Regions from separate parts of the Homo sapiens genome. Here region 1 is linked to region 2. Evidence: promoter capture Hi-C in 16 types of primary human blood cells and fetal thymus (Javierre and others, 2016). All regions are on one chromosome and are shown on one strand. The core of a region is centred on a gene start or on the middle of the fragment in contact, and the rest is flanking DNA. Distances in the headings are between cores, read along the strand shown.

The links. Contacts are between HindIII fragments. The CHiCAGO score rates a contact against its expected background, and 5 or more counts as called.
Region 1: a contact is called between a fragment that was not itself captured here and the fragment with the promoter of SHPRH in region 2, in 2 of 17 cell types (activated CD4 T cells and fetal thymus). The highest score is 5.3, in activated CD4 T cells.

What each region holds. Positions count from the first base shown.
Region 1 is chr6:147,219,993-147,225,219 of GRCh38, reverse strand. The region is part of intron 2 of STXBP5 (syntaxin binding protein 5); the gene reads right to left. Among named protein-coding and RNA genes, the nearest start is that of STXBP5-AS1, 18 kb to the right of the region's middle. The HindIII fragment of the contact is 2,993 bases long and covers 2,434-5,227 here.
Region 2 is chr6:145,960,238-145,965,670 of GRCh38, reverse strand. It overlaps SHPRH (SNF2 histone linker PHD RING helicase), which reads left to right and starts at 1,313. Exons shown (of 30, transcript NM_001042683.3): 1 at 1,313-1,940. RefSeq lists enhancers at 837-886, 438-1,425, 1,337-1,556, 1,667-1,796. The HindIII fragment of the contact is 1,513 bases long and covers 714-2,226 here.

The sequences.
Region 1 (5,227 bases), core at 2,681-5,180, 1.3 Mb before region 2:
TGAGTAGATATTCTCCTACTAAACCAAGAAAAAATTTAAGGGAAAACTGTTCCTTCTTACCACAGTAAAAAAGGTAAACCCAAGAGCACAATTTTAATTCATCAGAAACACTGAAGGTTAACCTCTCTTACCATTTCTTTCAGTACATTCTTTTACTTTCAGCAAACAGGGTAATTTAAACCTTTTTAAGTATTTTGATATGCCTTCAAAATGTTGCTACTCTGAATTGCCTTACTACTCTGAATAAAAAGTCAGTAGATGATTTTTACTTTTAATGGCCTAAGTCTTGAAGAGATTTAACCATAATGTGATTATTTTTCAATAACAAAGTTAAAATCTAAATACCACTGTAATGGGATCAAAGAATATTGATGGAAGCATTTGTGAAAAGAGGATGAGCTTTAGATTAGGACCAATACTGTCCTTTATTTTGTGTGAACATAAAAACAATTTAAAAAAATTGAGCATCATCAGAAACCTTTGATTTCTTCATCCACACTGTTATGGGGGATAAATGAAAGTCAATAAATAAAAGCAGCAGTACATGATACATTTATCCTACTAATGATAAAAAAATAAACTTTCTGTAAGTAGCAGGTTACCAGGAAAAAATGAAAATACATTAAATGATCTGTAATAACTAAAACAATCTAACTGTGCTGTAGTTTTCTCATCTGTGAAACGTCATTTGCATTCTTAACCTGATCAGTGTGAGGATCACCTGCAACTTAATTTTTAAATTTTATTTTAATTTAGTTTAGTTTAGTTCGGTTTATTTTATTTTATTTATCTGGAGACACAGTCTCAGTCTGTCTCCCAGGCTGGAGTTCAGTGGTGCAATCACAGTTCCCTACGACCTCTGCCTCCCGGCTGTGAAAGTGATTCTAGTGCCTCAGCCTCCCAGTAGCTGGGATTACAGGCATGCACCACCATGCCCGGCAAATTTCTTTATTTTTAGTAGAGACAGGGTTTCACCATATTGGCCAGGCTGGTCTTGAACTCCTGGCCTCAAATGATCCGCCTGCCTTGGCCTCCCAAAGTGCTGAGATTACAGGCATGTGCCATCGCACCTGGCCAAGCCCTGCATGTTTAAGAATAGACTTTTCAACCATAATTAGACTTCAAGGTCTTTTATATTGCTCGTTCTCTTGACCAGTGATAAACTGCTAGGAAGGAAAAACACCATAACTCAAGACCTGGAACTCCAGTTCCTTTCCAAATATTTCACGTAACAGTTTCACAGCCCTGTCTCCAAAGGCAGTGGCAGAACAAAAAGGCAGTGTATTTCCTCATGGTTACACCACAGATCTCAAGATGTTATGACTGCTTTAAAACGACATCCTCTCTATATACAGTAATTAACATGTTTCTTTTCTACCATCTGCCTAAGAATACTGCTACCCAGCCTGTCAAACACTTAAACCAGTATTTCTCAATTTTGGCTCTATATCACAAGCATCCACAAAGATTTAAAAAACAAAAAATTACAGATGTCATGCCCCTTGCCATACTCACTGAATCAGAAGCTCTAAAGAAGAAATCCAAGCATGTTTGGGCATTGTTTGTACATTTTGGTTTTTTCAGCTCCACAAATTATTCTAATGTATAGCCATAGTTGAGAAACACTGGGAAACCTTGTGGACATAAGTATAATTAAGCATTACCTTCCCTAAATAATCTATTTATATACATATAATCTATTAAATAACTTCTCTGATTTCCTTTTTTTCTAATTGAATAATCATGAATTCCCTATCTCCTCCCAGGTCTTATTTTCCAAATGTTTAATAATTTTCTACTCTCATCTAAATTAGCTTCTGACTGACTTAATAGAAATATGCTCAAAACAACAGTTTAGTAAGTCTTTACCAAAGATGAACATAATGAAGAGCACTTCATTTTGTATATTATGGGCTATGAATGTGCTTGCAATCCAAAGCCTTTGCCAACTGATTAATTACAGTTTTAGAGTACCCCATTCCATAGTTGCACCTACTTGATAAACGTCAGTTTTAAAACCTCTTTTTGAAGACCACCTATGTTTTCACCAATAAAAGTTAATATCAACTTCTCTTTTCCAGTGTAGTGTGTAAGGAGCATGGAAATCATTTTATCTTAACAAGAAGTAAAAAGCTGAACAAACTGGAAAATCAACAACTCTTCTTAAAGATCTGTAAGAGAAGTGAGACACAAGAAAAACCACTGCCCCCAAACTGGAAAGACAGACAGGTGGATACAGAGAATCACAACTTGCTGAAAGCAGAAACCCATAAGCACAAACCTCTGTGAAAACCTGTGTCCGGGTAAGGAAGCAAGCACTGTAACTGAGGAATAGCCGGAGGCTCAAAATAGGCAAGTCAGAAAGTCAAAAACTCCAGGGGAACCCAGTCATAGAGATGTCCCCACATCTTTGTAAATTTTACCTCTAAAGCTTGAGCAGGTTCTCACAATGAATATTGGAGAAAATTCCCTCATGCTACCAGCAGAGGGAAGAGAAAAGGCAACCATTTTTAAATATGCAAGAGCATATTCTGTTCTTAACAACAAGGACTGCCTTCAGAAATAACACTTTTACGAGAGCCTAACCTGCTGGGGTTTTATCAGGGACCAACTAACCTGAGAGAAGAAAAATCACTCCAGTGGGCCCAAGCCTTCCAAGTAAAGGAAGAGAAGTACGCAACTCCAGCCCACTTTAGCCATCTTATTCCACCTAAAAGGGAGTGGGAGGAAGTGTGGGGAGAAGAGATTAAGAAGCACTCCTGAAGTTCACAGTCCAAGAGCACAGACTCACTAAAAAACTGACACCTAATGACAGGACTATAGCACACTTCCCTTCCCCCCACACCATTACCAAAGGCCTATTTGCAGCAGTTCCTTTTACTTAGTACATCATGTCCCGATATCAGGAAAAAATTAAAAGGCAAAAAATACAGTTGGAAGAGATGGAGCAAGCATCAGAATCAGACTTCGAAATGGCAGTAATGTTGCAATTATCAGACTAGGAATTTAAAACAACCATGATTTATATGCTAAGGGCTCTAATGGATAAAGTACACAATACCAAACAACAGATGGGCAATATAAGCAGAACGATGGAAATTCTAAGAACCAGTCAAAAAGAAATGCTAGAATCCAAAAACACTTTAACAGAAGTAAAGAATGCCTTTGACAGACTCCATAGTAGTCTGGACACAGCTAAGGAAATAGTCTCTTAACCTGAGGATACCTCAACAGAAATGTCCAAAATTGAAAAGCAAAGAGAAAAAAAACTGGAAAAAAACAGAACAGAGTATCTGAGAACAGAGAGACAACAACAAAAGGCGTACATGTAACAGGAAAACCAGGAGAAGAGGGAACAGAAAGAAATATTTAAAGCAATAATGACTGTGAATTTCCTCTAAATCAATGTCGGATACCAACCACAAATTCGAGAAGCTAAGAAAATACCAAGCAGAATAAATGCTAAAAAAAAAAAGAAAGCTACACCTAGACATATTATATTCAAATTGCAGAAATCCAAAGATTAAAAAAAAATCTTGAAAGAAGCCATTGGAAAAAAACCCCTTACCAACAGAGGTGCAAAGATAAAAATTATTTCTGACTTCTCACAAGAAACCATGCAGGCAAGAAGAGAGAGAAATAAAACATTTAAAGTGCAGAAAGTTAAAAAAAAAAAAACTGGAATTCTGTACACTGCAAAATTAGCCTTCAAAACTGAAGAAGTAATGAAAACTTGCTCAAACAAAAACTGACAAAATGACCTGTGCTGCAAAAAATGTCAAAGTTGTTTTTTTCTTAAAGAAAATGACATAGATCAGAAACTCAGCTCTACATAAAGGAAGGCAGCATCAGAGAAATAGAGGCAAAAATAAAAACTTTTCTGTTTCTTAACTGATCTAGTAGTAATAGTTTCTTCAAAATAATAACAGCAACAATGTATCCAGTTTATGTATGTTTACATATATAAACACATATGCTTATATATAGGTGAAATGAATGACAGCAATGACATAAGTGATCAGAGTAAAGAATTACAATTTCTTTTTGTTATTACAAGGTACTCATATGACCTGTGAAGCAGTACAGTGTTCTTTCAAAGTAGACCCAGATTAACAGTAAATATATACTGCATATTCTAGAGCAACTATTTAAAAAAATAAAAGAAGTATAACTGATATGCTAAGAAACTGATATGCTAAGAAAGGAGAGAAAATGTGGAACCATATAAAATGGTCAATTAAAACCACAAGAGGCATAAAAAGAACGGGAAACAAAAATAGAAACAAAAACAAGGGCAACAAATAGAGAACAGTAACAAATATGGTAGGTATTATTTGAAGTATATCAACATTCACTTTAAACTTCAATGGCCTAAATGCACCAATTAAAAGACAGATTGTCAAAGTGGATCTAAAACTAAGACCCAGCTATACGCTGTCTGCAAGAAATTCACTTTAAATATAAAGACACATATAGAATAAAAGTAAATAGATGAAGAAAGATATGCCATGCTTTCACTAATCAAAAGAAAGCAAAGTAGCTATATTAATTTCAGACACAGACTTCAGACCAAGGAAAGTCATTAAAGTGGGGCATTACAAAATGAAAAAAGAGTCAATTCTCCAAGAACCACAACAATCCTTAAGGTGTATGCACCTAAGAACAGAGTGTCAAAATATATGAGACAAAAACTCATAAAACTGCAAGGAGAAATATATGAATCCGCTATTACAGTTGTAAACTTTAACATCCCTCTATCAGAAATGGACAGATCCAGCAGGCAGAAAAAAAGTGCCAACAGAGCTGAACTCAACACCATTCTTTACCAACTAGATATAATGGACATCTACAGTCTACGTTATCCAATAACAGCAAAACACACATTCTTCTCAAACTCACATGGAACATTAACCAAGACAGAATATATTCTGGGCCATAAAATATACCTCAAAAAATTTGAAAGAATAGAAACTATACAATGTCTGCTCTTGGAACATAATGGAAGTAAACTAGAAATCGATAACAAAAAGAGAGCTGGAAAATCCCAAAATATGTAGAGATTAAACAAAACAATTCTATTAACACTTGGGTCAAAAAAGATATTAAGAGAGAATTTTTTAAATGTTTTGAACTAAATAAAAATGAAAACAACTTATCAAAATTTATGGGAAACACAGAAAATAGTACTTAAAGGGAATTTATAGCATTGAATTCATATATATTAAAG
Region 2 (5,433 bases), core at 64-2,563:
AGAGAGGAAGAGAGACAGGCGCCAATAGTGAAGCTTTCAGAACACACACAACATTTATTAAGTTTAGCATCTTCTATGAGCAGAGTTTGTAATGCTCCCAAAAAACTACAATAGTAACATCAAAGATAACTAATCATAGATCACCATAACAGATGAACAGCAAGTGAACACATGCTGCTTGAAAAATGATGCTGACAGACTTGCTTGAGTAAGGTTGCCAAAAAACTTCAATTTATAGGAAAACATATTATCTGCAAAGTACAATAAAGGGAAGCAAAATAAAAGGAGGCGGGGATTTGCTTATGGAAACAGCTTCGTATCTGTGATAAAGGAATATACTAAGTAAAATATGGACTACCCTGGACTGTCTAACACAACTACAACCGATATTCACTTGGACAAGAACTTAGTTCAAGTGCTTCTGTGGTCACACAACCCAAAAGGCCTCCACAGCAGAAAAGCTGCTATTAGGTACTCACTAACTAAGTACTGAGTCCCCAGTGTTTCCTGAGGGTTATTTCACAGGCTCCTGACCCTGAAGCCTCTCAGAGTTATTCCAACATTAAGGTCACTTCTATGAGGAAGAGGTGAGAGGAAAAAAGACCAATAGTGGAAGGCCAGCTTCAGCGCAACACATGTATTTAATAGTTTCTCTCATCTTTGAATATTTATTCACATTTCCCTTTAAAGTCTGTTTTTGAGGGGGAGAAGCTTTATTCGTACCTACTTAGTGGCTGCTTTATAGCAGTAAAATAGATGCTTTTGCAGAATTCTTTTCTGCTTTTCTTTTGTGAGACGGAGTCTCATTCTATCACCCAGTGGGGAGATGTCGGCTTACTCAATCTCTGCCTCGCAGGTTCAAGCATTCTCCTGCTTCAGCCTCCCGAGCAGCTGGGACTACAGGCGGGTACTACAGGCGCGCACCACAACGCCCGGCTAATTTTTGTATTTTTAGTAGAGACGGGGTTTCGCTATCTTGGCCAGGCTGTTCTCCAACTCCTGACCTCAGGAAATCCGCCCGCCTCGGCCTCCCAAAGTGGTGGGATTACAGGCGTGAGCCACCGCTCCTGGCCCCTGCCTTTTTATTAGAGATACAAATCACACACGCCCTTCGCTTCAAGGGGAGCCCCGCCCCCTACTTCGGGCATTCGGCCATCCTGTGTTCTCTAATGGCGTGGGGCAGAGCTATCGCGAGACTCCACTGTATCCTCAGCAAGTTTTTAACAGTGTGAACTTGCGCAGAAGAGACTCATGAAGCCAGCGCAGGAGAAAGGGGGCGGGGTGCTCTGACGAGCGCGTTCGCCTTGACCCCACGCTACAGCGCGCGCCCGGCAGCTAGGCGCTGTGGTTTCTGGGTCTCCCGGGGGACCCCTACACGTTCCGGCAAAAAGCGCTCGTGCCCACCTCAAGCCCATGTTCGGTGGGTGGCGAATGCGTGCCCGTGATCTGCTGGGTCTGTAGAGGAGCGCAGGCCTGGTGCAAACAGACTCAAGAGGCTCGGAGAACCAGCTTGGGTAGGCGCTTGGGTGATGGAAGGTCAGGGGTCAGAGGTCGGGAGGGAGGGAGGGAGGTGGTCTTTGGCCTCCGGGACCAGGGAGGGAGGACGCTGGTTGTCCTGGAGCCCGGGAAGCTCAAGGGCTGAGAGGGAGCCGCTGCGCGAGTCTTCCCCACCTCTTCCCGATCCCGGACTAGCGAACTTCGGACCACCACGTCCCTCCGGGGATAAAGTGGGGTCGTGGGAAAGGAGGCTGTGCTTCTCCTCATGCACTGGGGCCTGCGGTGTTTGTCTCGAGCGTCCAACACACTAGGATCCGGGAGTCCGTCGTCACGCTCCTTGGCCTCGCGGTCGCTTGTTTGCTCGGCCTGCTGGGAGCGATCCGGCGCTGACAGCCCCGCTCAGACTCCGGGAGCCGCTTGTGGGTCTTTCGGAAGATAACTGAGTGGGTACCGTGCGCCGCAGATCTACCCCCGGAGGCTGGAACTGGGTCGCCGCCTCCCTTCTTTGTGCGCGGCATTGTATTAGTAAAAGGGGAGGCAGAGGTTTCTCAGTCCCACTCAAAGTTCTCCGTTACCTTTGGAGCCAGATTAATTACATTCGAATTCAGAACCACTCTTTGACATTGTACAGTTTGACTGGTAGTTGCTATGTTTATGAACGAAGATAGGGTGTTATTTGATGATTAATAGTCACTGTATAATGATCAGTTAAATAATGACCAGGAAGCTTGTGCCCTTTTTCCAAGTAGTTTGACATTAGCACGAGGTAGAAATCCGAGATGTTTGATGCCTTCCAACTTGTACTTAAGGAACTTAAGGAACTTGGGGCTTTTTCTGAACAAAATAAGATAAAGTTATTACTGTTACTTTAAATTATTCCAGTGGGCATTAGTAGGAATGATGAAACTCTTGAATAGAAACGATCCATGATATCTCTACTGTCACAAAAAAGACTATTTAGTTTATGATTAGTAAACATGCTGGAGACAGAGCAGTCCTGAGCAGTATTGTAATGATTATGTCTGTGCTCGATAACCTGCACTTTCTAGAGCTTTAAAGGACCAGTTAACCAGTAAGCTGGCAATTGAGAATAAAATAGTTTACTTTTGAGAGATGCTCTTGTATATCCTCTTTGTCCACCCGAAAGGAGCTGGACTTACAGAATTATTAAAACAAAACTTTTATTATTAAGAGTTTAGGCCAGTAAGATTTAGGGGAAACAATTTGCTGGTGAAAAAGCTTCTTATGAGGGCATTTTTAAAGTTTATGTAACTAGCATATTTTAGCATTCAGTAGAAGAAAATACTCTCACCTTGCTGGAATTATTTCTACAGAAAAGGAAAAGATTATGTTAACCCTGGGTCATTAAGAGCTTCCTAGTACTTAGTAATGAGTGGGCTTCATTTCCATAACACAACATTTTGGACAGGAATATGGCAAGTATGTAATCCTTTTTGCCCTTAATAGCCTAAACCCAGATCTACCATGGATTTGTTGTAATTCAAGATTTGTGTGTATCTTTTAAAGAGGAAATAATATTTTGGAGGGAAAAAATGTGAATTTAAGTTGTGTTATTCATTTGTTGGATTGTCTTAGTAATGTAACATTTTATGTTTATTTTTCTAGCATTCCATCCTTGTTTTCTGTTAAAGATACAGTTCAGGCAGTTTTCCCTGCCTCGTTCTAGTATTTCATTTTTCTCAGAAATACTAGTTTCATATTACCTATAGTCTTCTAGAATGTGGATAAGAGAGACTTCTCCAAAAAGAAATAAGAGTAAAGTATCGTTAGGTCCTCAAAAGGAGGGAATACATCCACGGAATTAGAGATCTTTGTTTCACCCTTTTTGTATGTCTTTACTTCCTAGCACTGACCTGGCATTGGGAGTACAACACTGAATAGGATACTACTCCTGCCCATCTTTCAAAGTGAACACTCTAGCAGTTGGGATCGAGGAGAGAGAGGCCCTTAACTCAGCTTCTCTAGTCATGGAAGCCTTTCCAGGGAAGATTGGGATGGAGACAGGCATAAAAGCAATTCAAGCAAAAGGCTTTTATATTTAAATACAAGACAGTAAAAGTGCGGTCCATATAGAAAACTTCACATAATTACGTTTTACCCAAACACTGCTAATTAAGGAGGAGGAAGAAGTAGTTGTGACTGATAAGGTATGAATAAAACCAGAAGAATATGGGATGTGGTTAGATACAGAATTTCACCAGTACTTGACTTACTAGTTGCCAAATTGCATTTTAGTCATAAGTATATTTGACCAAATACTATTTTCTTTGGTTCAAGAAGTTAACCCTGAATAGAGATTTCCTTAAGTAAAGACTCAGTCAAAACCAGGAGCTTTTTGTTTGGTTGGTTGATTTTTGATCATGAATGTTTACTCAGTTAAGAACTGGACAAAGGGAGAGCATTGCTAGAAATTCTGGTGTTGACTTTTCTGCAGTTTATCATTATCACTGATAAGTACCTTGAGGCACTAATATTGGAAGAATCAGGCTGAAAGAATACATCTGAAGGAATGTGCAAATTATAATGGTGTACATAATTTAAAAGATACTGGATAGGTTTTACCAGAGAACAGAATAAATAGTTGAAGTAATGTTTTCTGGTTTGGTAATATGTCTGTTACAAAATTATTGTGGGAAACATGGCACATATTACTTCTCACATTCCATTGGCTAGGACTGGTCACAGGACCAAACCAAGCTGGGCAGTCATTTCTCAACTACTCTATACTTTGAGTGGAAATAAGTGGATTTTAGTTGGCAGCTGGTTATCCATAACAAGGTTTTTTGAACTTGGCTGCACCCTGGAATTTTTTAGGGATTCTAAAAAATAAAGGGAGTAGTGCCTGGGCCCTTCTCCAAGACATTCTGACTTAGTTGGCTCGACATCAGGATTTTTTTAAGTTCCCCTGGTGATTCTAATGTGCAGTCAAGTTTGAGAAGCACTAATCTGTGGTCCCCCATCCTGCGACATTACAGTTTGGTTATTGTGAAATGTGGTTTAGAGCAGGGGTCCCCACCCCTCAGGCCATGGACCGGTGCCAGTCCGTGGCCTGTTAGAACCGGGCTGCATTGCAGGAGGTGAGTTGCGGGCAAGCGAGCATTACCACCTGAGCTGTGCCTCCTGTCAGATCAACAGTCAGTAGATTACCATAAGAGCATGAATGCTATCGTGAACTGCATATGCGCAGGATCTAGGTTGTGCACTTCTTATTAAAACCTAATGCCTGATGATCTAAGGTGGAATAGTTTCATCCCTAAACAACCCCCTCTCCACTCCACCCCTCTCCTCCGGTCCATGGAAAACTTGTCTTCCATGAAACCCATTTATGGTACCAAAAAGGTTGGGAACTGCTGGTTTAGAGTGTTCTCAGGATGATGATAAGTAGCAACTACCATTTATGGAATACAGGCCAAATTTCTAGTACTGCTGTTGTACTTAAATTATTTCTAACCACAATCCTGCTATCATCCCCATTTTAGAGATGAGAAAATTGGCACAGAAGACTGGATAACTATTCCAATGCCACACAGTCAGTAAATGCCAAAGCTGGAATTAGAATGAATATAAGACTTCAAAGCATTGCATTCTCACCTTTAAGCCACATCGCTTTGCTAATGTGAGACTCTGCTAGACAGTTGCTTTTTGGGTTTTCAGAGTTAATGATTCCACAATAACCATGTTATTAATATTATTATGGTTAGTGTGATACATTGTGTAACTGGCCCAATTCCCTTCCAACACTCCCTCTACCCTTCCACCCCCCATATCCATGCTCTTTGCCATGTGCAGTTTCACCTAGTAAAGAGGTGTAGTATATTTCTTCACCACTTGACATTGGGTCCATGGATATGTCTTGCTTTGGTCTGTGGCACCTTAGTGGTTTTTAAGCACTTTGAAAACTACTTGTGTGATTGG